Linked DNA regions of Homo sapiens: all the other regions are linked to region 4. Evidence: promoter capture Hi-C in 16 types of primary human blood cells and fetal thymus (Javierre and others, 2016). All regions are on one chromosome and are shown on one strand. Each heading gives the region's core, a stretch centred on a gene start or on the middle of the fragment in contact. The rest is flanking DNA. Distances are from core to core; before and after follow the strand shown.

Region 1 (4,199 bases), core at 102-2,601, 300 kb after region 4:
TTCTCAGGCTGCTAATAAAGACATACCCAAGGCTGGGTAATTTATAAAGGAAAGAGGTTTAATGGACTCACAGTTCCACATGGCTAGGGAGCCTTCACAATCATGGTAGAAGGTGAAGGATGAGCAAAGTCATGTCTTACATGGTGGCAGGCAAGAGAGCATGTGCAGGGGAACTGCCCTTTATAAAACCATCAGATCTCATAAGACTTATTCACTATCATGAGAACAGCATGGAAAAACCCCGCCCCCGTGATTCAATTACCTCCCACTGGGTCCCTCCCATGACATGTGGAGATTATTACAATTCAAGGTGAGACTTGGGTGGGAACACAGAGCCAAACCATATCAGCTTGTAAGTGGGGCCACTCGATTGTCTCAAACCTGTGAGGCCAATGTCCTCATCACCTTCATGATCATTCGTTATTATTGTTGCTATTTTATTATTTTAATTTGAATATAAGACAAAGGTGTGGCAGATTTCAGTGTTGTCTTGCCTGGAGGGATAAAGAAGCAATTCCAGCTCAGGACTCTCTTTTTCCTGGAATCTTCAACCATGTTCCAGTTTTACTCAGGATGGGGTCTGCTTCCTTCCCTGAACCTCCAAACATTTTGTGAATGTTGGTGCGGGTGGATGGAGCATCACAGCCCTGTGCTGCCTGGGCCAGGTGCAATATTCCTCAGCCTCTGTTTCTGTTTCACCCCTTAGGGAAGCTTCTACATCACCTCTGAGAACTGCATGCAGCACGCACACAAGTGGCACCGAGACCTGTGCCTGTTGCTCCTCCACGCTTACCGGGGTCTCCGTCTCCACTTCCTGGTGATCATGCGGGACATCCCAGAGCTGCCACACACGGAGCTGGGTAAGGGCCCAGGACAGGGGCAAGCCCATCCCAGCAGCTCATGTGCCTCCTCCACACAAGGGATGGGGAAAAGCTGGCATGCTTTTGTAAATGTCACAGGAATAACCCTGGTCCAGGTAGGTTTGGGCTGTGATTTTTATTATTCTACCAGGAGAGGATCTGGGAAATGCAAATGCAGTAAGAGAAGACACATGTTCCTCAAGGCACATTCATTCACTCATGCATTCATCTGCCAGACATCTATTGAGTACCTATTACACACCTGCCACTCCACTGCATAATTTTAGGTTGCTTTCTAGAGGAAAATGCTGGTTTATAGCCTTTTCTTAATTAAGCTGTAATTATGGAATTGTAACTTACAAGAGTGTAAAACAATCCTCATAAAAACTATATATATACACACACACACACACACACACACACACACACACACACACACATATGCATACATATATGCTTGAGCTGGATGATTATAGAAACTTCTTAGTATCCATTACATTTGGTTATCTGGGGATCAGTTGATTTTTGCACATGGATTTTCCAAAGATGAGACATCATGGAAATCAGTGGGCTTGAATCTCTGTTGATTGACAGACGATGGACCTGAAGCTCAGAGAGGTAAAAGCGTTGCTCAGCATCACACAGTAATGTGTGGCAGAACCATGACAGCTCAGGGATCCTGTGCTGATGCCTTGGGGCAGGGTCCTTTGTGTCATGTCCCACTCAGTAAAAATAGGTGATATGTTCTGGCTCTGCTCAAAGTTCTCTAATAAGGCCTCATTGACTCTAGAACAGAGGCGAAGTCCCCAGCTTGCTTTTCAACGATAACACCCATTTCAACATTAGAACCCTGCTGGGTACATTGACTTCCCTATATGTACCCCTAGACCTCAACTGCTGAGATAACTGTGGTTTTGACTGGGTCAATGGCCTTGTTCATTGTTCATTGCTGCACTGAAATCATCACGTAAAAAATTTATTTGCATGTTTTGCTTCCCAAATAGACTGAGGTCTTTAAGAGCTGATTCCCCTCAGATCCCTGCCACACTCTCTCCGGTATGTAGAGTAAAGGAGTAGGTACAGGGTTATAGTTGTTGAATTGAATCTGGAGCCTTCTTACTATAAGCTTTGTCAGCTCTCACATCATATACAAATCCTGTACTCAGGCACTACTCTTTGAATCATGCAATCACTGAATTTTTTCAAGTTCAAATCTTATGCATGCAGGAATGACCTGCACAGAATCAGAGTGACTTTATATAGCTCAAATGAAAAATGGAGATTTTTCAGTAGCAGTTGGATTCCTGATACAACTTTTTATATTATATTTTATCCAAAGGAGCTGAATTTATTTGTTCATTCACACCCTCATCATATTTTACTGGACATGTACTATGTGTCAGATATTGTGCTAGACACTGAGGATACATAGCCGTGACTAATGTATCAATAGTTCATTTTGCCTTGCGGGGTTCAGGGACCTGAGGTCAGCGGTGAAGTAGAGAGGTGTCTACTAATTAGGTCATCAGCAAGGACCGTAAGCTGCTAAGGGATTGTTTCCACTCAGCTAGGCAAGCATGCTTTAATTAAAATCCATGCCAGAGCCGTGTGCAAATGACTGACCACAGCATCATGGAACCAGAGGAAAGTTCAAACCCAGTCACAACTGTGACCATTAAAACAAATAGCCAGAGGCCACCTGGTTTCTGCTGATAAGATGGCCACATTCTTCAGTATCAGAGCTGGTGGAGCTGAGCAGGAGGTTCTCAGGGCTTCTGATATTTTATCTGTAAGATAGAGATTCAAATCCATCTTCCATATATGATGCACAGATGTATACCTGTGTGTGTGTGTGTTTGTGTGTGTGTGTGTGTGTGTGTGTACCTGCAAAAACAGAAATAAACGTGGAATCTCTCTGGGCCACACAAAGTGCTGTATGAATTTGGGATGTACTGCTTCTCATAACCGTGTGCATGAGGTGATATTGGCTTTTATCTAGTGCTCAGTCCAGTCCATGGCTCCAATCAGGTTCATTCTCCTGATAAGCACAGTCCCTTTAGGAAGTTAGAATAGGTAGAAGGTCCTCAGCAATGTGTTTGTCTCTGTGACGTTAATGCCAATGTGAAACTTTTGCTTTTTCATTTAATTAGCAACTGCTGCATTTCAGTGTGGGTTCATTTAATCACACAGTTTATTTTTTCTTTCTAGAGGCCCTTGCTGTTGAAGAAACACTTTCTCAGCTGTGCTCAGAGCTACAGGTAATTGGAGAACTGGCGCTGGGGTCTGAATGAATGGCAGTAGTTTTGCAAGGCAAATGCAGTTGCTTGCTTGCTGTAAAAAACAGAAGTGAAAAGACACCACTTGTAACTTCACTCTAGATACCAAGCTGGAGAAATATTCTTACATTCTGTTACCCTACATCACTGTGTTCTATAAGTATGTGCCTTGCTAGATATTTTGGAAAAACTAAACATGTTAACAGATTTTTGTTTCCCCGAAGCTTAGGCTACACATATGTATTTGTCCATTACCCATCCATTGAACAAACGTTTGTTGACTGGTTAACTCAGTGCTTCTCACTGTGGATGACAGAATCTTGTACCTGTGCACAGATGGCCTCAGACATGGCAGGGAGGCTAGAGTCAGTGATGATCATGAAAACAGTCACATGCATTTGCCAACAAAGCCTCATCAAGCGTGCATTAAGAGTAAAGGCTGAATAAATATTTGACAAATGCATGCTGCTGCTATTTACAATCTCTGGAACACTTTTACATCCCCCTTGTGTTAGATATCTGGGTGGGTACTCTTATTTCTCTATGAAGAAGAGGCAAATCAAGATTGGAAAGAAGTCTATACCAGGGTGACTAACACAGCTAATCAGTACTAGAAGCAGGACTCAAAGTCTCATCCCCCAAACTGACACCTCTGTCTGTTAAACCAGTGTTTCTCAACTTTGTCTGTACATTAGAATCATCCTTGGAACTTTAATGATGCATCTTTGCCTGAGCCTGGGCATACAAACTGGCTGAAACAGAGTATCTGGGATTGGAGTTCAGATACTGTGTTTTTATTCAAAGCTCCCCAGATGAATATTATGTGCAGCCAGGGTTGAGCACCCCTGCTTTAGGGCATGTTACAAAGTTAGTAAAATCCAGTCTCACAGTGAATGCAGAGGAGATCCCTGGAGAGGGCGGAATGCGGAGGCAGAGACAGAGGAGGGTGTTGGGAGCCTAGAGCTGGAGGGCCTTTGGGGAGGGGCTGTTGGACGGCAGCCTGGGAGAAGGGGTGGGACTTGGCTTGTAGCGATAACAGGGAAACACATGCCAAGCACTGATT
Region 2 (4,896 bases), core at 1,935-4,434, 280 kb after region 4:
TGTTTTAACTAGTGGAGGAATAGGAAGGCCTGGTCCATTTGGTATCTTAGACCATGCTTCTTTGTTATTTTCTCAATCCCCATCTCAAATATTTACGCAGATTTTATGATCCTCACTGGGTGATTGCCGAGTGGCCTTCCTTAATTCACTGGGGTTCTGGGCATTTATTGGTACCTGGTGGACTTCTGTGAAATGACTAAAGGCAGCAAATCAACCCCTACGATGAAAGCTGCCAGGGACAGGTTCCAGGTTTAACAATGTTAGAAGTTACAGGAGATCTAGGAATTGTGATCCTTTCTTCTAAAATATCAACCTGTTCTCCCCATCAGTGTCATTTTCTTTTCTCCCTGAAAAATAAGCAAAACCAAAGGCGTATTTGAAACTCCCCACTTCCTATCTCCCATGTTACGCATAATTGAATATATTTTACAGTTTCTATCATCTTGAAAAATCACTTTTCAAATATTGAAATAATAAAAGATCCATCTATGAACAGTAGTGAAGATAGTACCTTCTGTTTCCATGGAGACCAAATTACTAGTGTTCAGATGTGTGGTTATTAATGGCAGTTACAGATACAGCTCTCACTGGGTTAGCCAGGTAAGTAGGCACATGATATTTATCATCACCTGCAAATGCATTCAACTCATTTCAACCTAATTTTATTGTTGGAATTTTAGAAATAGTTTTATTTTCTATTTTGGTTCAATTTCATTTTCTTGCGGAGTATTTTACTGGTGCCTGGTAAGCAGTTTCCTGGCTGCGTTGCCTTGTCTGATGGGACAACATTCTATTCATAAATCTCTCTCTCTCTCTTTCTCTCCCTCTCTCTCTCTCTCTCTCTCTCTCTCTCTCTCTCTCTGTGTGTGTGTGTGCGTGTAAGTTTGGGAGGAGCAGGGCATTGAACAGGGTCTCTAGAGTGGCCTGTAGCAAACCTTAGAAGGCAAGAAATCCACTGCCCATGTAAAAAGAAAGGAGGAGGGATATCTATTGAGCAACTCTGTGCTGTATATTCAGTTTTTGCAAACATCATCTTTTTAACTTTTCTAACATCCATGAACATTTCTAAGTATGAGTCCCACTCTGTAAAGGAGCAAACAGGGGATCTGAGACGCCAGGAATCTTTTCTAAGGGAAATTATTAGAGCTCAAATTGTAACCCATGTCTATAATTCTGAACTCTTCACTATTTTCTATATTGGTATTGCACTAAATTAATATGTGATTGTGAGCAGGACATATTGCTATCCCCATGTGACTTCTATGGTCGTTCTCATGATTAATGTGTAGAGTGATTGACTTATGGTAAATATTGAATAAATGGTAGCTCTCATCTTTTTCCTTCTCCTGCTTTTATTTTTCTCACTATTTTTAGTAGAGCTTTAATTAGAAGTAATAGAAGTAGAATTATTTCTATCTTTGCTCATATGCACAGACATTTTTTGGTTAATTCAAGAACTGCATCTACATGGATTCCATTTTTATTTTCCCCTAAAGTCTCATTGCTCACACATTTGGAAGTCATCTTAGTTATCATGTTTCCATAAATACTAAATTTTCACCCATTAAAGTCTACCAATTATACTTAGTGTGAAGAGGTGGGAGTTAAATATGACTTCCATTAATAGTTTCATTGTTTGGAAGACAGAGGTAATTTTTGATACAGAAATAAGAATTCCTTACATTTATGAGATGGCCTAAAAGAATCCCTCCAGTATCTTGTCTTCATCCCATGGCTGTTTCATAGTAACATTCAACTTTTTCTCTTCCTACTTTGTCTCCACTGCTACAAAAACTCCGTGAAGGAAAGGACCAGGTAGTTCATGAACACTGATACATCCTCAGCGCCTCACGCATAGGAGGAAACTCACTGAATGCTGTTGTATAAAGAAATATATCGGCCGGGCATGGTGGCTCACGCCTGTAATCCCAGCACTTTGGTAAGCTGAGGCGAGCGGATCACAAGGTCAGGAGATTGAGACCATCCTGGCTAACATGGTGAAACCCCGTCTCTACTAAAAATACAAAAAAATTAGCTGGGTGTGGCGGTGGGCGCCTGTAGTCCCAGCTACTCGGGAGGCTGAGGCAGGAGAATGGTGTGAACCTGGGAGGCGGAGCTTGCAGTGAGCCGAGATCGTGCCACTGCACTCCAGCCTGGACCACAGAGGGAGACTCCATCTCAAAAAAAAAAAAAAAAGAAATATATCAGAGAACAAATGAATAGCCTCACATGGAAGGCTAGAGGCAAGAGATATTTTTTTCCCATCTTACAGAGAACAATGTTGGAATTCCAAATTACTTCTTCCCACTCTTAAGCTAAGAACTTTTTCAGTTATACCATTTTGTTGTCTAGATATGACTATCCAGAAGTATATTGATAATTCTAGCCATGAAGCACATTATTTCATTTAGTTACTATTTACATAAATATAGATTCTGAACAAAATTTCCAGACTCTTGACCTAAGTGGGCATATTCGTCAGGCATTAGATAATGGTGATGATGCTGTTGATGATGGTGGTGATGATGCTGGTCATTTTGGTGACAGGCAATGCTTACATAGATTATCTCACTTATCCCTCGCAGCTTCGAGGTGACTATTATTATACTATCATGTGCATCAGGAAACCAAGGCAACAAGGGTTTCTATTTGACCAAAGTCGCATAACCATACAGTGAAGAAGCTGGTAGACTCCACAGCCCAAAGCCCTGGAAAGCTCTGTAGCCTACTTATTATGTGTCCTCATGCCTCGTTTCCCCTTTTATAAGATGGTTAGGATTGTAGCTGTCTTTCAAGAACATGGGTTAGGCTATATGAATATGCTTATTGCAAAGACTACCAAGTCAAAGATTCCTGTGGATTAATCAGAGTTTAGAGAGCAGGTTTTCACTCTCTAATGAGCAACCCATCACTGGCTCTTAAATGGGGCTTAGAAACAGTAATACTTTCCAACCACCAACTTGTTCATAAACACATCAGACGACTTCAGGTATTTATTGCCCAAATGAGTGAGAAAGGCAGCACATCAGATGACTGACTTTTTGAAGCTTTCTCTTGGCCATTCTTTAGGATTCAGAATGAATGTTCCTGGCTCAGACAGGCATTACCCAGCACCCCTTACCTGCATCCTTTCCCTTTCTCCATTAGTGCAATGCCAATCTCACTGCAGACAGTTGTCTGTCTTCACTACAGGCTGAAGGCCTGGTGAAGGCAGAAATGTCTGCCTTCATGCTATAACCTTCAGCATCTGTGTAAGCACCTAGAACTCAATAAATATCATGAGTGTGAATGTTATTAAAAGATAGTCTGAGGAAAGCTTATCTCAGAATTGATCAGATGTGTCCTCTTCTATCTAGCTATCCTCCAACGGTTCTAAGTCTTATTGGTAGTGTCTTCATAAAAATTGTTATTGTAGTTATTTAGATTTTAATTGGCAACCAGCAACTCACTGCCACCATTCCACTGCAGATCTTCTATTCCTGGAGTTGATATGACAAGGAAACCCTATTGGAACCAAGTCTTCAGATTGTTCCATGTGCAGACAGGCTCCTTGTCTGTAGGTGTAGTAGCATGTACACTGTACTGTTCACTGTAACATAGTTTGTTCTGGTATTTGTTATTGGAAATGAATATCGCTTCCACTGACTTTTACCATCCCCTCGGACTCATTAATTGCTTTCTCTGGGTAGCACAGAGAATCCTGTTCTATGCTGATCTCATTCTCATTCCCGAGAGAATGTCCAAAGAAACTGATGCTTGCTCATGGCTGCCAGAATATCTTCTGGGGGCTTCTCTAATCTTTGCGTGGCATCACTTGTAGGATCTGAGCCATTCATGGGTGGGAGGAGGGTGCGGAGAATGGAGTGCCCATGCAACCTTCCCAAAGTGCCTTAGTTGTACTTTCTGACAATTATTATTGATGTATCAATTAATGCAACATGATTTGGGGGTTCTATAATGTTCTGTCTGTGCCAAAGCACTTTCATCCTCTTGTTTCATTTAATATTTCTGATAACGCCTCTGCAACTTGCTAACTTCTGTCATAGAATGGAAGCCTGAGGCTCAGAGACTGAAAGTGACTTGCCTAGGATTGTTCATCTAGTAAATATTAGATGCTAGATTCAAGATTCCAAGTCTAATGTTCTCTTTGCTATGTAATAGTTATTTCCAGGGATCATGGTGGTGAGTTTATAGATATAAGGGAAATGGCTCTATGGCCAACATTCAGATCAGAGTCCATACTTTCAATTAATAGAATAATATCAGTTAAAATATTATTTTGAGTATTTACTATTTTCTATCTCCCATATTAAGTTCTTGCACACGTTATCTAATTTGCTCTTCACTAGCACCCTACCAGGAATCTATTAGTTTTCCCTCATTTTACAGATAAGGTAACTTAGGCATAGAGAGATAACTAACTGGCCCAAGATTAGGTAGATTGTGGATGGTGGTTCTAGGGTTTGAGCCCAGGCTGTTAGACTCTAGATATTTAATCATGTCTAGATATTTAATCATGTCCATCTTCATGGGATCTAAAACTTTTTGAAAAATCTGTGTTGTCTGAGTCACTGGAAACCTCAGAATTATCCCCGATCCCTTCTTCTCTCTTATGTCTACGTTAGTGACTGATTTCTACAAACTGTGTCTTTGCTTTTTTTGCCTCTTCCCCTTCTTCCACTGCCTGCAAATATGTCCTAATTCCTTCTTATCCAGACAGTGCACAGACTCCCAACTTACTTATTTTTTTCTGATCCTCTTCCCTCTGCTCCATCTTCACCTAAGGCTAATTTGAGGTGCTGAATCTTACATGCATCATCATGACAAATAAGAGAGACCTTCATACTGCTTTATGCCTCTGAGTCTAAGCTCAGCTTCAACCTTGTACTTTCTGCT
Region 3 (4,397 bases), core at 1,250-3,749, 360 kb after region 4:
TGGGAGGCTGAGGCGGGCGGATCACGAGGTCAGGAGATCGAGACCATCCTGGCTAACACAGGGAAACCCCATCTCTACTAAAAACACAAAAATATTAGCTGGGAGTGGTGGCGGGCACCTGCAGTCCCAGCTACTCAGGAGGCTGACGCAGGAGAATGGCGTGAACCTGGGAGGCAGAGCTTGCAGTGAGCCGAGATTATTGCGCCACTGCACTCCAGCCTGGGCGACAGAGTGAGACTCCATCTCAAAAAAAAAAAAAAAAAAAAAAAAAAAAAAGAAGAAGCAGAATGAGTTGCCCACCCCAAAGAGAGAGTTTCAATCAGCACTACTTTTATTCTTACACTGTACCAAATGTTTCAGTGACGACAGTGCTAGTAAGCAGCTTGCATTTTTCATGCAATTGAATATGTAGACATAGTGCTAATCCCTTGATATACATTATCCCATTTAGTCTTCATATACAAAATATTACTTCTTTATTCCACAAATGAAGCCTATAGAGGTTAGATTTTTAAAAAAAAGAATAAAAGAAAAGCTAGGTGAGGCAGTTTCATAGGGTGACACTGATTTCTTTTCTTGGATGGTTTTATGCTCATCATGAGTAGAGGTGGGGAGGTATAGCCTCTCATATAATAGGCTCTCAATAAATAAGTATTTAACTTGAGAATAATGATTCATTGAACACGTGGGCCTGTGAGTAGCAGTATGGCTGGAGCAGAGCCTGCAGGAGGGGGTCTAACAGCATGGGCTGTGAGCAGGTGGTTCAATATATACACAGCGGGTGAAGGAGAGGATGAATGGCATTGTGAGGCCATCCGTATATGAATGGCCTCCCAAGCAGGATAAGGACTTGGGACTTGATCCTGTGAATGACCAGGAGATTTCAATGCTCAGAGGTGCATTTCAGGAAGGACCTTCCCTTCCCCCAGGTGGAATTAAAGCAGGCTGCTCTAGCAGCATGAAGCTGGCTGAAATGCCCACACTTCTCCCCTGACTGGGCACAAAGCTCCCATTCACAAAGACCCCATCTCAGGCTTCTCATGGCCAGTGTTTTGAAACCTGATGAGGTTGAGTTGGCAGTCCCTGTTCTCTTTGCCAGTTCCCCTACATTCAGTGGGAGGTGGAGAACAATGGCCCCTGATGCTTCCAGCACTGCACTCTTGGGCAGCAGCATTCACCGTCACACTCATGGGTACCCCTTCTGTTTCTCCACAGCTTCATTGGCCATTCTCTTGGCAACATCATCATCCGATCGGTCCTCACACGGCCCCGGTTCCGGTATTACCTCAACAAACTCCACACGTTCCTGTCACTCTCTGGGCCTCACCTGGGAACCCTGTACAACAACAGCACCCTGGTTAGTACAGGTAAGATTCTTCTAGGACTCGTCATTCCTCAGAATTAATCTGGGGCCTCTGGGGCGTGAAACCGGGCACAGGTACTTCCACTTGGAACCCTGTGACTGTGCAGTCTTTTCCAAGCATGGCATGGAGGGAGGAGTCCTGGCCTTAGAGGTGTGGCCCTTGTGTCTGGGGGCTGAGTGAGGTGACACTAGATGTTTTCCAGGATCATTTCTGCCTTCAAATTTCTGTGAAAAAAAGGCAATGTCTCTGGGGTCCTGGTTGGAAAAGACTGACAAGACACGGTGTTGTGATGAAGAGAACAGGGACTCTGAATCAGGCCACCTGCATGACAAACCTGTGGTTAAGTCCTGACCAGGACACTTGAGGGAGACTGTGGCCTAGACATTTAATCTCTGTGCTCCTCAGTCTTCCTGTTTGTAAAATGGAGGTTATGTGTGTGTGTATCTGTGTTTGTGTATATGTATGTATACATATATGTATGTGTACAAGCATGTACACAATGTAAGTATGTATACATATATATGGTGTGTAGGTGCATATGTGCATATGTGTATCATAGAATTGTTGAAGATTACACAGGGGAAGGAAATAAGGTTGACTAACATCTATGGGAGGTTAAATATATCAGCAAGAGTCAGACAAAGAAGGACCTCGACTGACTCCAGAATATGTTAGACTTACCCTGTAGACCTTGTAGATACTACTCATGAGATTTTACTGAGGAGGTGACATGGTTTGGTGTATGGAAGCCCAAGGAGGGCATTGAGTTTTATATGTAATAACAAATCGTTTATTAAATCATGTTCTTAACAACTACCTCAGTAGTCCCTGATTGTTCAAACCCATTATGTGGCATTAGGGTCACCCCTGATAAGCTTCCTTGTCCCTGCAATCTTCCAGGCCTCTGCCACTGTCCCCTGTCCTCTCCCACACTAACGTTGTTTCCTCATGGCCTGGTCAGTTTAGTTAGTTTGCTTTTAAGTTATTTTATGGCATACTTGTGAACATGAGTTATCCGACACAATGGCACATAACAAATGGAAGTCCTTTCCTCTGCACTCTGTCTTTCCTCCCAAACCAAGGAAGCCATTCTTTGGACAGAAACAAATTTGTTAAACTACATTTTTCCCCCACAGTTATAAAGGAATCTTGCAGCATCATAAAATATTTTTTAAAAAGACAGACTTTACCAATAATATCTCCAATCTAGCATATCCAGAGTAATTTTATATATTTCATTCTACTTATCTTTGTGCACACACATTGACGTAGCAGTCAGTGTAATATATGTACATACCATAGCTTGCTTATTTCCTTGTGTTTCTATCAGATTAATTTGCTTGTTGTGGTTATGTAATCCTTACACTCATCAATGTTAGTGTTTGCCTAAGCTTAGCTAAACGCATGAGATTTTTGTTGTTGTTGTTGTTTTTTGAGAGAGAGTCTTGCTTTTGTCGCCCAGGCTGGAATGCAATGGTGCAATCTCGACTCACTGCAAGCTCTGCCTCCCAGGTTCAAGCAATTCTTCTGCCTCAGCCTCCCAAGTAGCTGGGATTACAGGTGCCTGCCACCATGCCTGGCTAATTTTTTAATAGAGTCGGGATTTCACCATTTTATCCAGGCTGGTCTCGAACTCCTGACCTCAGGTGATCCACCCGCCTCGGTCTGCCAAAGTGCTGGGATTACAGGCATGAGCCACCATGCCCAGCCAACAGATGAGTTGTGAAGTGAGACATTTATTTTAGCTTTACTGTATCCTAAATGTATCTGTAAGGATCATTTTATATTCTTTTCGCATTGAAAATTATTACCCTAGGCTTCTTTTTCGGAAGGAGATTGACTGGATTGAAGAGTGTGGGTAGTTTCTTACTCCGAAGGCTGTTGTCCTGTCATCATTTTTGCAGGATGATTTAAGTCCTTTCCACCAGTACGTGAGAGGACAAATTTACCTCTAACTTCCCAACTATTTGCTAGTATGCCTACTTCTCTCTTATTTTCAAGTTAACTAAAATTCAGTTTAACGTTCATCTCACCAAAATTCCATCCCAGTTAGTTTTTGTTTTGTTTTGTGTTTTTGATTTTTATTTTGTTTTTGTCTTCCTAGGCTTATGGCTCATGCAGAAACTGAAGAAATCCGGGTCTCTACTGCAGCTGACCTTCAGGGATAATGCTGATTTGCGCAAATGTTTCCTCTACCAACTAAGCCAAAAAACAGGTCAGTGGTTTCCCCCACAGCTGCAGTTATGAGTTTGAGCTTGGGATTCAACTCCTGAGACACAAATGAGATATAATGCTACATTGATTCACTCACAGAAGGGCCTAGTCAGGAGGCCCAGCACTCAAAGCCTCTTTGGCTCATTGGGAGGCCAACAGCTACCAGGAACTCAGCTCCTCTTGCCCATTGCCCATATGGCACGTGAGAGATTGAGCCAAGGTGTGTGTAAGATCATTTCAATAGCCAGAAGCTGTAGCTTCCACTTTGTGCCAGTTTTTCAATGTTCTCATTGCATAGGCCTAAGATCTGTGTGCCAGCTTCACCCAGGTACAGGCCCATCTACAAAAAAGGCAGATGCAACATTTTCCACTGATGTTGACTGTGCAGTGGGAGACGGGGGTCATTGTCAGGCAGGCCTGCTATGATACCTGCACCCTCTCTCTGTCATGTGGAAGTGCATAGAGGTGTTGAAGACCCTACCTGCTACATGGGAATGTCCACAGAGGACAGCAGTAATGGTGATCATTGCCGAGTGGTCCCCATGTCCAGTCGGCGAGTGGAGCAGCTGACTGATTGCCCTGCTCAGTCCCACCACACAAGCTGGCCTGGCCCAGGGTCTGTTCTTGGTCACAATCTTCCACCGTCCTGTAAACACTGACTCTGCTGATCCCTCTGTGCCTGTGAATCTGGTGTAGCCACGGGCTCATCTGTGAGCCTGGCTGAGTTCCTTTCCTACTTTCTGCCTCTGTGTGTTGAGTTGAGCTCTTAGAGCTATCTCCTGTGGAGGAGGAGGAGGGAGGCAGGGCTTGGCAGAAGAA
Region 4 (4,772 bases), core at 181-2,680:
CACCCATTTTCTCTATTGAGAAATTCATATTTATTTGCCATTCACCAAACATTTACTGAGGGTATGCATTGCCCTGGGCTTGCTGGGTGCTGTGGGGAGGACAAGCAGGGTAGATAGCTCAGAGCCTCCATCTGCCCAGGCCCACTATGTCAACAGCCTCCTTAGGACACCTCTTTCTGCAGCCTTAATCCCCACCCTAGCCAGCACCACACACACTTCAACTAAGGTGATCTTCCCTTCATTCCCACCCAGCCTTTCTCCTGCTTAAACTGCTTCACTGCCCTCCTCCCCACCACCTTCCCCATTCCCTTCCCATCCTAAGGGTCACATTGTCAAATTCCAACCCCTTCACTTGGATCGCAAGGCCTTTGGTGTGCAGTGCCTGCCCTGTAAACCTCACCACTCGCCTGCCTCACCTCTCCTTGCCTGCTGCTGCTAGGTTCCTGCTGTTCTGTCCTGCCTCCAGGCCTCTGTACCCTGCTCCTCTTGTCCTGGAAAGAGCAGTCTTCTCTACCCTTCACCGCCCCACTCATTTGTTCTTATACCTTTTTTTCAGGTATCTTTCCCCAATTACTTGCCCCTGCCCCCAGCCTGACAGGGTTAGAGACTCCTCCTGCCAACTGCAATTGCCTGGTTCCATTCCCTGCTTCCTCCTGGGGTGTGAGTTAGTGCAGCCCAGTCTAATGGGGGACATAGTCATCCTCTAATGCCTGGTTCCATTCCCTGCCTCCTCCTGGGTGGAGTTAGTGCAGCCGAGTCTAGTGGACGGGTCACTGGGCTTCCGAGTCCCAGTCTTGGCTCCTTCTCTAAGGCTGTTTTGTCATCTGTCACAGGCATGCCACGAGAACTTGCCAGCACAGTGGTGGTGATAATTAGAGTTCCCAATGCCCCTTAAGAATGCTCAGTAGACGGGAGCTGGCTTAACCCTCCCCAATCTTCCTCTCCCTCCTCCGTGGACAGAATCTCACACGTCTGTGAACCCCCACGTTCAGCATGAAGTGAGGAGCCCATCGGATGACGGGCCGGCTGGCTGGTTGAAGGCCACTGCTGACTTCGCATTGGAGGTATGGGTTGCTCAGCGCTTTTACCCTTTCTCAGGCATCTACTTGTTGCCTGGGCTTCTCTTCCAAGTTCAACAGTCCCCTCCCAGCCAGTTCTCCGCCGCGCCCCGCCCCCGGATATCTGCAGGGACCCTTTTCCTGCCCGAGGCCTGGGGTCTTGGCTCGAGAGGGGAGCCCCGCCGCGGGGACTGAGCATGCTCGCGCCGGTCAGTCTGGGAGGGCCGCACGCGGGGCCGCAGCCTGCGCCCTGGGCACCCGGGCGGCCGAGCGGGCGGGGTTTGGCCGCCGGGCGGCCCGCCCCGGGCTCCCATCAGGGCCTCGCGGCGGAGAGGGACCGAGGTGGGAGCGCGTGAGCCGCGCCGCCAGCCAGTCGCGCAGCGTCTACCCACGCGGTGCGCAGCGGCTGCGGAGCGGAGCCAGCGGGAGCAGCAGGGCGGGCTCTCCCGGCCGCGAGGGCGCGCGGCGCGGCGCGGAGGGTCTGGCCGCGTCCCGGCGGAGGAAGGAGAGGAGTGAGGGCGCCAGAGGTGAGCGCAGCCCGGGAGGCGCCAGCCCAGCGGCGCGGGCGCAGCCGGTCGGTCCTTGCTTTCTTGCGGCGCTGGCGGCTGCGTTCCCCCGACCGCGCTGACAGCCTCGCGTCCTGGCGCCTGCTCGCTGGGGCTGCCCGGAGGCCGCGGCCGGGCAGCTGTTGCACGGAGAGGGGGGCAGTTGCGGGGTTCCATAACCATAGCAACCGCATCAGCACCGGCGGCGGCGGGCGAGGGCAGCATCCGCTCGCTCCTCCTCCAGGCAGCCTCGCCGCGGGGACCCAACACCAGCTCGCAGGTGCTGCGGACTCCCCAGTCCGCCCGCCGCCGCCGCCGCCGCAACTGTTGGCGGCCAGAGACGGCGAAAGAGGAGAGAGAGGGACCCAGGAGCGCGGCCCCCGGGGGAGAGAGAGGGGAGCCCTGCAGTGGAGACAGGTAGGTGAGAGCGCTTCGGGGTCGGCAGCTGCAAAACTCTCTCGTCGGTGGTAGTGACGCTTCTGCAAGCGTGGTTGCCAGTTGGATGGCTTTCTGTCACGGAACAGCGATTCCGCCGCAAAATGTGGTTTATCTCCCTCGATTTTCCCCAGTCTCTCTGCCCTCCAGGTTTGCTGCACATCTGGACAGGTCTTGAGGGGATAAGAAGGGCCAGGGCTGTGAAAGGAGCGGAGAGGCTGGGTTAATGAGGGGTTCCCCCCAGGAGTCCCAGATGGAGGCTGAGGGGGCGCATGCAGACCTTGGCCATTGGGGTCCTTGGAGCCAGGGAACCCGGGGGCCAGGCTCAGGAGAAGACCGCACTGGGGTGGAGGGGACAGTGGCAGCGATTCCCTGTGATCCAGGCGAATGCACAGACCCGTTCTTCCTGTGGCTTGGCTGGGGACAGGGGTGTGCGGGGACACTGCAGCTCAGCTGTGACATGGAAAGGGACCAGCTCTTGATCTGTAGAGCCAGCTTCAAGCCCAGTCACTGGAGGGGATGTTTAGACGAGGCAAGTAGTAACTGTTATTATTTTGGGACACAGGAGTATCATGTTATTGCCGTTGACTATTAGGGATAGGATGGGAATAGAAATAAAATTTTGAGCTAGCAGTCAAGACTATGCCCTCCCCTTCTCCCCACCTCATTTCTAGCTCCCCACCCCACTTTGCCAGCAAAACAAGAATCACATCGCTCATAGTGACAATCCTTGCTCCTTGGCCACTGGCAAACTATCTCGCTTTCAGACAGCTGGAGACACCGCTTCAGTTGTCCATTTGAACCAGGGGGCATTGTTTTCCATCAGGTTATGATGCTCTTGATGTTAAGTGATGTGTCAAAGCCGAGAGGCACCTGGGCTGTCCATACAGTGTGATGGACTGTTAACTACATCTGCAGGCTGGAGAGAGGGCCAGAGCTTGGGGAGTGATTACAAACTCAGATCAGCTGGGACCAGGGCCCCGGAAGAAGGAAGATAGCATGTGAATAATTAGGGTCTGAAAGTTCGTGCATGTAGGTAAGTAGGCCTCTGAATAATATCCAGGATAGGCAGCCATTGACTTTGAAAGGGCTCTTCCTTTATATCGTGGCCTCGGGGGACAGTCTAAGTCCCAGTTAAAAGGCTATGTTCTTTAATTGGGCTTTTAATTTATGGTGTGGTTATGTTACCCAAGGGGATGTGATTTGGCCAACCTCTCATCTGGAGATTTATGTCATAATATGGATGATGTTATCAGAGCTTAGACAGATGGTTAGGTGTAGAGGAAAGTGGACCAGATTGGAGGGTCAGAAAACATGGATTTGAACTCTGATTTCCTCATGCACCTGCTGTGTGACCTTGAGTTGTTCCACCTCACTGAGGCTTCTTTCTCTCATCTGGAGAATGGGGATACTAACTAACAAGTCTTGCAGTTTACCAGGCTCAATCACAATCCAATGGGATGTGGAGAGGATGTTTGGGAAGGGCTTTTTAAAACCTGATGTCTTGTGCAAGTAAAAGGGATTATTGTTTTCTAAAGAATCTCTCTTCCTCAGATTGGCAAATCATTAAACATCCATCAACTACGAAAAGAGAGTGGAAATATTAGTCAGTGACTCACAGTGGAAACACTGTAGTCTGGTCCAAGATTCACTCAGGGCAACATAAAGAGGGCTTCTCAGGGGAAAATGCTGCATGCCATCCACCTTGCCTACAAGTGCTGAAGGTCAAGTGCTTTGCCATCAAATGCAGCACTCGTCTAGTTTGAAACAGTGAGGCCTGCTCACAATGGGTGGATTAAGTTTTTTTTTTTTTTTTACAGTATAAACAGAGATTTAGACAGAGTAGGGACTCATTTAACTGTTCACCTCGGGTTGTGGGTTTCTCGTGGGCAGGATTACTTTCATCCAACTCTGCTCTGTAATGTCAGGTGTTTACCAAATATTTGCTCAATTTGACTGAAATAGACTGAATGCTGACAGGTTGATTTTATTGCTGAAGGAATTATAATTTCTGGAAGGAACCAAGACTGTCTTATACTATTCTCTGCTCTTTTATGCCCCTGATTTTGCTCATGGTGGTGTCCCTGCCTAGAATAACAATTTCTCACTTCTTTCTTCCTTTAACAACCCAACTCAAATGCCCCTTCCTATAGGAAGCTTTCCCATATTCTCTCATGTGCTCCCACAACACTCTGGACCTCCTTTGTGATGGACTGTGCTGTGTCATCGCTTGCACACATACCTGTCCTTTCTGTTGATTTGATGCTTCCCAATGATAGGTGCCTCTCCCTATCTGACTTTGGTTGTGGCTGCAGCACCTGGTGCAGCCATGGCCATGATGAATGGTTGTTGAATGAGTGAATGAGCCTTACTTCTAACATGACCACCTGTGCAGACGTAGGCTGCAGAAAGGCCATTCCTGGCTGCTTTTGCCATCTCGGTCTGTGTGGCAAGCCTGGAGGATGCTCCATGGCTTGTTGTGCATTATTTAGGGTCAACCCACTGAGGCAAAGTGAAGGAGAACAGAAGCACATATTTTGCTTTAAAATGCTCATTTTTTTTCAAGTGGGCACTTTAGGATAACTGAAATCTGGTGTTGAATGGCCTTCATGTAACATTTGCTGAAAACATCTGATGGAATATTTTAAACTTGAAATATCTTTTTCTCGCTTCAATTTCTTTCCTTGATTTCAGCTCCAGTATAGTAAAAAAGCACAAGCATTGGATTAAGATA
Region 5 (4,799 bases), core at 731-3,230, 320 kb after region 4:
TCAGTTGGCAGAGCAAGGGAGTAGGGGAGTGAACAAAGGTGCTTGGTTAGCACCCAGGTGACGAGGGTGAAAGTGTGGCAGGCGTGGATGGCAGGGCCTTTTTTCAGGGAGTTTCAGCTATGACAGCTCTGGGCTGCAGCTGCCTCTTTGTTAGTGTAAAGGGCCTCCTCGGTCTCTGGAAAAAACCCTTCCAAGCTCGCCATCTGTGATTGCACAGGCTCGGGCATCTGTGGAGTAGAAAAGTCCTCTTGTGGCTTAATTAGAAGCTTCTTTAACCTTATCTAAAGCCATTTCTATAATCAACTTGAGGCAACATAATCCTCCCAAAGACACATTTAATGAATAGCTTTTCTTTTTTCTCTTGTTCACTCTGGTGGCGGAGCTCAGGATTCGTGCTGTGTTTGCCGGTGCCACTGTGGTGGCAGCGTGGTAGTGGTGCTGTGAGTGAGGGAACAAGGAGGCCGGGAGAGGCAGTCTGAGTTCCGGAGGCCTGGGACACCTCCCACGGACACCGAGCCACCTATTCATTTTGTAAAGAGTCACTGACCCTCACTCTCTATCAGCTGTTGTGCTGGGGCTGGGAATAGTGAGAAGGCTGAAGCTCAAAATGCAGGGGATGTAGGAAGTGAAGCCAGCAACATGTGGGTGGAGGTGCTATGAGTGGTGCCCGTGCAGGTCAAGTAGACGTCAAGAAGGATCTTAGACTTACACGCGGAGCATTGGAGAAGGTTCAGAAGAGTCATCAGAAGCAATATGGACTGTGTGTGGACTCTCTGAATTTAAAACAAAAGTTGAAATTATTTAGAGAAAAAAAAAAGAAACAAGGAGACACAAAATTGGCTTCTGAAATGGTTACCTGGTAGAGGACAGACAAGTCCATAGTGATGAAAAGAAGAAGAAAGGAAACTGGAAGGTGACGGGGGAAGGTGCGCAGGGAGACCAGCAGCCTGAACAAGGGCCTGGGATTGGAGAGGACCAGGTGTGTGTGCAGCCCACTGCCAGCAGGTTGGTATGGCTGGGAACGGGAGTGCACTGGGCCAGGATGGGAAGTGGGCAGAGGTGAGGTGGGGGGCATTTTCAGGAGCAGTTGTGCCACGTGCTGATGCATAAGGTTGGGTCTTATTAGTGAGAGGCACTGGTTCAAGAATCTATATAGAAGTCACTTACAGTTCATCCAAAAGCCTCACTCTCTAGCCAGGAGGTTTTGTAATGACTGACCCTGTCCGCCATATTCCCCATTCAACTTTTACTTTTCTTTTCTTCTTTATTTTTTTGAAACGGAGTCTCACTCTGTCTCCAGGCTGGAGTGTAGTGGTGCGATCTCGGCTCACTGCAACCTCTGCTTCCCAGGTTCAAGCAATTCTCCTGCCTCAGCCTCCCGATTAGCTGGGACTATAGGCACCTGCCACCATGCCCGGCTATTTTTTTTTTATTTTTAGTAGAGACAGGGTTTTACCATGTCGGCCAGGATGGTCTCGTTCTCTTGACCTCGTGATCCGCCTGCCTCAGCCTCCCAAAGTTCTGGGATTACAGGTATGAGCCACCATGCCCGGCCCCAGTTTTTACTTAACACTTTTGACCATGATGTATGGGAATGGGCCAAGAATGGCCATTCCCTGTTTGACCCCTGCCTGCCCCAGAGCCAGTGCTGGAAGTAAAGCTTCCATCAGAAGAAAATGCAGGCGATTCCCTCATTTTGGGGTTTCATAGCTTGTGTCATCATCACAGACTTATCTTACCTTTTGGAAGAAGTAGCTCAGAGATGATGCTGTGGCTGAATGATGTTCTGTATCTGGAAGCAAGTCATCCATGATAAAGCAAAAATATGCAACATTTACAGAACCTTACTGTGTGCCAAACTCCTCCTTCCCTCTTTCTTACTCTTGGATGTCTCACTTTACCCAATTGGTCTCTATCTAGCACTAGTCTTCAGTCTAAGAATAGCAGAAGAAAATTCCAGCATTTCAAGCTAGGCATTGGACTTGGATCTCCTCATATTTTACACCCAAAAGCAGTAATTTGTTTTGCATACTCACTTTACAGATGGGAAAACTGAGGCACAGGGCAACGAAGAGAAAGGAATGGGATTGGATGTGGCTATGGCTGTGTGTCCCTGGTCTATTGTGCATAGTAGAAAGCTCCGCGGCACTTTTAATTGTTAACTCACATTAATGAGTGGAAATATCCACCATTGAACAAAGCTCCCTACGGACAGAGACCCTCTCTTGTTCATCTCTGAGTTCTCTCTTATTCTAAACATGTGCCTGGGATTAAATGCTTGAATAAGTGAGGAAGCTTAGAGGTCAGTGACAGGCTTTGGCAACTGGCTTCCTGCCATCCTCAGAGATGTGACCTCTCTTCTCACCTCTCCAGAATTCGAGTTACTCCCCCAAAAGATGGTTCTCCTGGTATTAAACTGTAGCTATCTAAAGCATTTCTGTCCAAAGGGTCTTCTCCCAAAGCCTCTAGGCCCTTTCTAGTCTAACTCCTCTACATTTTAGTTAATGTAACCAGGAATCTCCCGTAAGAAATGTGGAGTGAAGCCAGGTGTGATGGCTCATACGTGTAATCCCAACACTCTGAAGCAGGTGGATCACTTGAGCCCAGGAGTTCGAGACCAGCCTGGGCAACACAGTGAGACCCCGTCTCTACAAAAAGTTGTCTGGGTGCAGTGGCATGCACCTGTAGTCCCAGCCAGAGGTTGAGATTGGAGGATTGCTGGAGCCCAGGAATTCGAGGCTGCAGTGAGCCATGATCACACCACTGCACTCCAGCCTGGGTGACAGAGCGAGACCCTGTCACTAAAAGAAAAACAAAAACAAATGTGGAGTAGTGTGAGGAGGATGGTGGAGAAAAGCTATGGAGCACCTATCGTGCATGAATTGCCTCAGTCCTCAGGTGCTTTGAGGTTACAGAGATGCTGTCTTCTCTCAGGACGTTTTTTAAACACTTACTATGCGAAGGTGACATGGTGATGTGGCTTCATAGTCATACATCCCTTCCATTGAATCCCTGCTGTATGTGAGGTTGGGCATTCTTTTACTGACTTTCATTTCACTTTCTGTAATTGGATGGCCACAGTAACTCTACCAAAGGGTATCTGGCAGGATTAGATAGGGAGCACCGTCAAATGCCTAGTACTCTACCTTACACATAGGAGATAGTGATGATTGGAAGTTATAACTGCTGTGAAGTACTGCGTCCAGAATTTGATGGGATACAGAGTAGAGTCCAGTAGATGGATCTGGGGTACCTTGAAGAGTTTGGGGAGAATGTGAGTAAAAGGTTTCCAGCTGGGGCAACTGTGAAGACGTCATAAAGCAAGTGTTGTTGGCTCTGGGCATTGAAAAGTAGGGTGAATTGAGTTTTGTGGTGATGGGATTAGAAGGCTTGGATAGAAAAGTTGAAAGGGGATATCCAGGATAAACGAAGAGCGAGGGAAAACATTCAAGGTGCAAGATGTTTATGGAAATCTAAGAGTAAGCTGTACTCAGAACATACATGAAAGTAAAATGAAATGGAAAAGATATACTGGGACTAGGTAGTGGGCAATCTTGCCTGCTAGACTAAGGGCTTTGGATGTTTTTCTATAGATAGGAACTACCTCAATAATTTATTGTTGCCATTGCTGTCTTAGCTTCCAGATCAAACGTGATAACATGATCCTATAGTACTATGAGTTGTAATATATAATACTACAGATGTACAGAGAAAGGAGAGTGCTTTATTGAAAACAGAAAAGTCAGTAAAGACTTCAGGAAGAAGACTGCTCCTGACTTCATGGAGTCAGGAGCCTTGAATACCACCTTTTTTGCCTCTCCAGATGTTGAACAATCCAGAGAAGATCGCTGAGCAGATAAGCAAGGATCTGGCCTGGCTCACGTCCCACATGATGACTCTGTGGACCCAGTTCCTGGACACAGTCACTCTGCACTCCCAAGTGACCACTTATCTCACCCAGGAACACCACACCCTGAGGGTGAGTGGCCAACTGCTGTGCATTCTCTGATCACATGCATTTGATTTCTTTGGAGGAACCTTTATGAGAATTAGATCAAGCATTAGGATTGGCCTCTAGATCTTCGTGCTTTCGTGTCTCTACCATGACCGTGCAGGGTGGCGTTGTGAACTTCCTTAGCCTCTCAGGCCTTTGCTGTGTCATTCATAGAATACTTGCCTTGGCAATCTCAGAGGATTTCAGAGCCTATCACAAGAAATATTAAAAGTATTTTGGAAAAAGTGCTTTTCTTTTTTTTTTTTTTCTTTGAGATGGTGTCTCGCTCTGTCACCCAGACTGGAGTGCAGTGGTGCAATCTCCGCTCACTGCAATCTCCACCTCCCTGATTCAAGCAATTCCCCTGCCTCAGCCTCCCGAGTAGCTGGGATTACAGGCTCACACCACCACACCCGACTAATTTTTTTTGTATTTTTAGTAGAGATGGGGTTTCACCATGTTGACTAGACTGGTCTCGAACTCCTGACCTCAGGCAATCTGCCCGCCTCAGCCTCCCAGAGTGCTGGGATTACAGGCATGAGCCACTGCACCAGCTGAAAAAGTGCTTTTTAATGTAAGACATTGCTCTCTGTGTGTTTCTCTGCCACCAGCTTAGGTACATATGGGTAGGTGCTGATGCATAACTAAATATGCTGGTATTTAGATCAACATCTAGTTAGAACAAGATGACAAAACATATGAAGATCAGAGTCCACAAAATGTTCAGAGAACATACATGACTGGGTTTGGGAATTCTATTTCATCTGCATTTATTTATGGACCCTGTTCACAGAGGTCTTATATT
Region 6 (4,633 bases), core at 1,834-4,333, 260 kb after region 4:
GAAATGAAACAGAAGAGATCTAAAAAAGAATATGAGTATAAGTGAACATTACTGGTATATCAATTGATGAAAATCAAACAGGTAAAGATAGAGGAAGATGATCATAAACTCAAATATGATAAATTTGAATAATCACACATCTTTTCCTAATCTCCTTTGATCCTGAAATTGATCATTGCCATCACAATATGTCCATTAATCTTTGGATTGCAGAGCTGGGCAGGAACTGCACATTTGTGAGCTGAGCAGGTTATGGTCTTCCCAATTAGCGTTGACACAGCGAGTGCTTTCTGGCTTATGACAGTCTTTGACATCGTATTAGACTCTCATGCGGATCATGGAGGAAGATGTTTTATGCTTTTCCACAGAAGAAAAGAGGTCCAGGGAGGGAGGAGTTGGTGGAAGGAGCAGGGACAGGACTCAGACCTTGTCTGGTCAGAGTTGCCCCTGAAATTTTCGGAGCCCATGCCACCTTCCCCTCTAGTGATATAAGCTTGGAGCTCTGCTTCAGTGTTTCTTACAGGTATGTTGTTGGCATTTAGGGTGGGCATTTACATGCACACATTGTAGGATGTGTATCATCATTGACTTTCAAGCTTACGTGCCAGTTGTACCCTCTTTATCATCAAAATATCCACAAATGTCACATGCAAACACTCCCTAGGGGGTGAACTACTCCTAAATGACTTATCCCAAATGCTTCACAGGAACACTCCTCAAAGGGGCTGAGTTAATGGCACCATCACTTTCTTTACCTCCTTTTTCACCCTTTCAATTATCTTTTGTTTAGTTTTACTCGTCCAGGAAGAGGCTCCTGGCTTGGTAAAGGTGGCCCAGACACCGGACAAGAACAGTCTATCATTTCTCTGGAAAACTTGGTCTTTGGAGCTGGGTACTGCAAGCCGACTTCCTCAGAGGTAAGGCCTGTGTGGGGCAGTTGCTTCAAAACTTTCAAACTTTACTTTGCAGAGTGTATGTTCTATGAGATTCATGCTTCTTTGAAACATCCCCTTCAGAGATTTTTGCTAATTTGACCCTTCCTTTCACCATCTTCCCACCCCTTGTTTTTATCACTACAAGCTCTATCAGACATATTTCTAAGGCCAAGCCCTGGGATAGATACAGGGAATATGGTCTTCATATGATACTTGTTATATGTGGTCTCTTGGAAGAATATGGTTCTCTGTAGGTCAGGAGGCTGTGCTGTGAGGGGGCCACTCAGACTATGTGATAACGTTGAAGGCCATGTCTGGTTTCAAAACCTGGCTCCCGCTTTCATTTGTGCACTCTCTGAACATCAGTTTTCCCACCTGTAGAGTGGGCTCCCCAATAGCTAATAATCTCATGGAGTGTTATATGTACCCAAATGTTGTAATAAATGTAAAGTTCCTAGCCCGGTATCCAATACTCACTAGCTGCTAACTAAATATGCATATCCTGTCCTTCCCCTTGTTCTTTTATCCTAGGAAACATCCCCTGCTCTTCTGTGATGTGCAGGGCTTTAACCACACAGGGTATGATTCTGCTCATATTTCTCCCAAGCCAGTATATGCTATGTTTTTATTAGTGGCCTACTCATAAATAAACAGCCTGTATTATTCAGGGTTCTCCAGAGAAACAGGACCAATACAGCCAATAGAACACACACACACACACACACACACACACACACACACACACACACACACACACAAAGAGATTTATCATAAGTAATTGACTCACATGATTTTGAAGGCTGAGAAGCCCCCAAATCTTCAGTCAGCAAGCTGGAGACCCAAGAGTGCAGGTGGTATCATTCCAGTCCAAGGCTAAAGGCCTCAGAACCAGGAAAGCTAGTGTTATAAGGCCCCTTGCAAGTCTAAGTCCAAAGGCAGGAGAAAACTGATGTCCCAGATCAAAGACAATAAATAAGAGAGACAGTTTTCTCTCACTCAGTCTTTTTGTCCTATTCAGGCCCTCAATGGATTGGATAAGGCCTATTCATGTTGGAGAGGGCTATCTGCTTTATTCAATTGACCAGTTCATCCAGACATACCCTCACAGGCTTACCTAGAATAATGTTCAACCAAACGTCTGGGCACCTTGTGGCCCAAGTAAGATGACACGTAAAAGTAACTGTCACATTAATAGTAACTATCACTACTAATTTCTGAGTAGCCCACATTATAAGTGTGATAAACTGTCCATGCCCAGTCAGCCCCGCAAAAGAGGTGTTCTATCCTCCTATACAGTCAGGCTCTGTGCACAGACTGTTCAGAATATTAGGTAATGCACTCAGCTGGCTCTCCTGTGATGTTATCTTTGCTAGCTCTGAGACCCAGCCAGGAGGTCTGGTGGCAAAAGCTGCCCAACTCATGTCTTCATCTTGTCCAAGCTGCTGTGTCACATGATTTTATGGTCCTGAGAAGCAAAGAAAAGAGTTGTCAAGAACCTGCTGAGGGGACCTGAAGCCAGAATGGGGTTCTGTGCCATGGAAGGAGCAGATTTTAGAGCCAAATAAGACCAGTTCCAGGGTAGACTCCGGTGACTTGTAGATGCAGAACTTCAGTCAACCACTGAGCTTCTCAGAACCTGACGTCCTTAGCACTGACGCAGGGCCCAGCACATAGGAAGTGAATGAGTAAGAAAGCGAGTGGAAAGCAGTGAGCCCTGTAGCATGTCATTGGACTGTCCCTGCTGTGGGTCCTTTGCTACAGGACCATCACTGAGGCAAAGCTCCCCGTGGTCGGCCGAAGCCTTTGCTGTGACTACATCACAGTTCAGCTTCTCCCTATGTCCAGTCTTCCTTCCTTCAGCCCCCACGTGGGCTGGCACCCAGAGTTTCAGTAGACCCCATTGTAGAGACTGAAGAGTCTCAGAGCCAGTGCTGGCCCTCAGAACGTCAGAATCTACTGCCTGAAAATCTTCCACTCAAACTCTGTTTTCCAGGGAATGTGGCCTGGGGCGTTAGGGAATGTCAGTGGTCACAGATCAATTCAAAACACTTTCAACACTCATCTCCCAAGCCAAGGGCCTTTGCTGAGGCTGCCACAGGAGGTTGTGAAGATGATTATGAGAAGGTTTCTGTCCTGAGGGACTCTGATGTGCAACTCCCTGTACACCCTCCAAGACTTTGTCAGGTGCCACCACTAATATGAAAGTACTCTCTGATTTCTTAAAAAGAAATACTTTCTCTTCAATTCTCTAGGCATTTCTGTCCTTCCTCCACTGGGCTCTGAGTGGCTGGGAATAGAAACCAACTCATTCAGCTCCCCATCCCTAGGGCCAGCACCATGCCTGCCATACTCAGTGCTCAATAAAAGTGTGGGGAATGAATGATACAAATGTGTGAATCATATTCATGTAGGAAGCTGAGAAGCAAGACACTGAGGCCACACAGACCATTCATTGCTTCACACGGCAGGAGCCAGTAACCAAATGGGAGGCAGCTGTGGAGTGAGGGGCATCTCTGCTGACGTGTGTGTGCCCAGCTCAGAACGTTAGACCTGGTATGAAGTGGGATGGAATGGCACACATGATAGACCATTTCAGTCCACCAGACTCTGTTACAAATGACATATCTGAGCACGGCCCAGCCAAATTTCTATCTCGGAGACTGTTACAATGCGGTAGAAAGCAGACTCTGGTTACAAATGCCTCCTATGATAAATGCTATGTGGCTTGGGGGAACTCATTCACTCTTGTGGAAACTTAGTTTTCTTTTCTTTTCTTTTTATACTTTAAGTTCTAGGGTACATGTGCACAATGTGCAGGTTTGTTACATATGTATACATGTGCCATGTTGGTGTGCTACACCCATTAATTCGTCATTTACACTAGGTATATCTCCTAATGCTATCCCTCCCCCCTCCCCCACCCCATGACAGGCCCTGGTGTGTGATGTTCCCCTTCCTGTGTCCAAGTGTTCTCATTGTTCAATTCCTACCTATGAGTGAGAACATGCGGTGTTTGGTTTTTTGTCCTTGCAATAGTTTGCTAAGAATGATGGTTTCCAGCTTCATCCATGTCCCTACAAAGGACAGGAACTCATCCTTTTTTATGGCTGCATAGTATTCCATGGTGTATGTGTTCCACATTTTCTTAATCCAGTCTATCATTGATGGACATTTGGGTTGGTTCCAAGTCTTTGCTATTGTGAATAGTGCCGCAGTGAACATACATGTGCATGTGTCTTTATAGCAGCATGATTTATAATCCTTTGGGTATATACCCAGTAATGGGATGGCTGGGTCAAATGGTATTTCTAGTTCTAGATCCTTGAGGAATTGCCACACTGTCTTCCACAAATGTTGAACTAGTTAAACTAAAGAGCTTCTGCACAGCAAAAGAAACTACCATCAGAGTGAACAGGCAACCTACAGAATGGGAGAAAAATTTTGCAATCTACTCATCTGACAAAGGGCTAAAATCCAGAATCTACAAAGAACTCAAACAAATTTACAAGAAAAAAACAACCCCATCAACAAGTGGGTGAAGGATATGAACAGACACTTCTCAAAAGAAGACATTTATGCAGCCAATAGACACATGAAAAAATGCTCATCATCACTGGCCATCAGAGAAATGCAAATCAAAACCACAATGAAATACCATCTCACACCAGTTAGAATTGCACTCATTAAAAAGTCAGGAA

What was found. Contacts are between HindIII fragments. The CHiCAGO score rates a contact against its expected background, and 5 or more counts as called.
Region 1: a contact is called between a fragment that was not itself captured here and the fragment with the promoter of FAM135B in region 4, in 3 of 17 cell types (M1 macrophages, M2 macrophages and M0 macrophages). The highest score is 7.6, in M1 macrophages.
Region 2: a fragment that was not itself captured here is called in contact with the fragment with the promoter of FAM135B in region 4 in 3 of 17 cell types (M0 macrophages, M1 macrophages and M2 macrophages); the score reaches 7.3 in M0 macrophages.
Region 3: a contact is called between a fragment that was not itself captured here and the fragment with the promoter of FAM135B in region 4, in 2 of 17 cell types (M2 macrophages and M0 macrophages). The highest score is 6.8, in M2 macrophages.
Region 5: a contact is called between a fragment that was not itself captured here and the fragment with the promoter of FAM135B in region 4, in 3 of 17 cell types (M2 macrophages, M1 macrophages and M0 macrophages). The highest score is 14.5, in M2 macrophages.
Region 6: a fragment that was not itself captured here is called in contact with the fragment with the promoter of FAM135B in region 4 in 2 of 17 cell types (M2 macrophages and M1 macrophages); the score reaches 5.5 in M2 macrophages.

The regions. Positions count from the first base shown.
Region 1 is chr8:138,194,177-138,198,375 of GRCh38, reverse strand. It overlaps FAM135B (family with sequence similarity 135 member B), which reads left to right. Exons shown (of 20, transcript NM_015912.4): 8 at 707-860; 9 at 3,069-3,118. Among named protein-coding and RNA genes, the nearest start is that of FAM135B, 300 kb to the left of the region's middle. The HindIII fragment of the contact is 1,275 bases long and covers 714-1,988 here.
Region 2 is chr8:138,214,733-138,219,628 of GRCh38, reverse strand. The region is part of intron 7 of FAM135B (family with sequence similarity 135 member B); the gene reads left to right. Among named protein-coding and RNA genes, the nearest start is that of FAM135B, 280 kb to the left of the region's middle. The HindIII fragment of the contact is 269 bases long and covers 3,050-3,318 here.
Region 3 is chr8:138,138,168-138,142,564 of GRCh38, reverse strand. FAM135B (family with sequence similarity 135 member B) reads left to right here. Exons shown (of 20, transcript NM_015912.4): 17 at 1,216-1,367; 18 at 3,469-3,579. Among named protein-coding and RNA genes, the nearest start is that of FAM135B, 360 kb to the left of the region's middle. The HindIII fragment of the contact is 516 bases long and covers 2,242-2,757 here.
Region 4 is chr8:138,493,919-138,498,690 of GRCh38, reverse strand. It overlaps FAM135B (family with sequence similarity 135 member B), which reads left to right and starts at 1,430. Exons shown (of 20, transcript NM_015912.4): 1 at 1,430-2,020. The HindIII fragment of the contact is 6,997 bases long and covers 1-4,197 here.
Region 5 is chr8:138,177,715-138,182,513 of GRCh38, reverse strand. It overlaps FAM135B (family with sequence similarity 135 member B), which reads left to right. Exons shown (of 20, transcript NM_015912.4): 10 at 3,824-3,979. Among named protein-coding and RNA genes, the nearest start is that of FAM135B, 320 kb to the left of the region's middle. The HindIII fragment of the contact is 635 bases long and covers 1,663-2,297 here.
Region 6 is chr8:138,239,226-138,243,858 of GRCh38, reverse strand. FAM135B (family with sequence similarity 135 member B) reads left to right here. Exons shown (of 20, transcript NM_015912.4): 7 at 791-917. Among named protein-coding and RNA genes, the nearest start is that of FAM135B, 260 kb to the left of the region's middle. The HindIII fragment of the contact is 4,969 bases long and covers 599-4,633 here.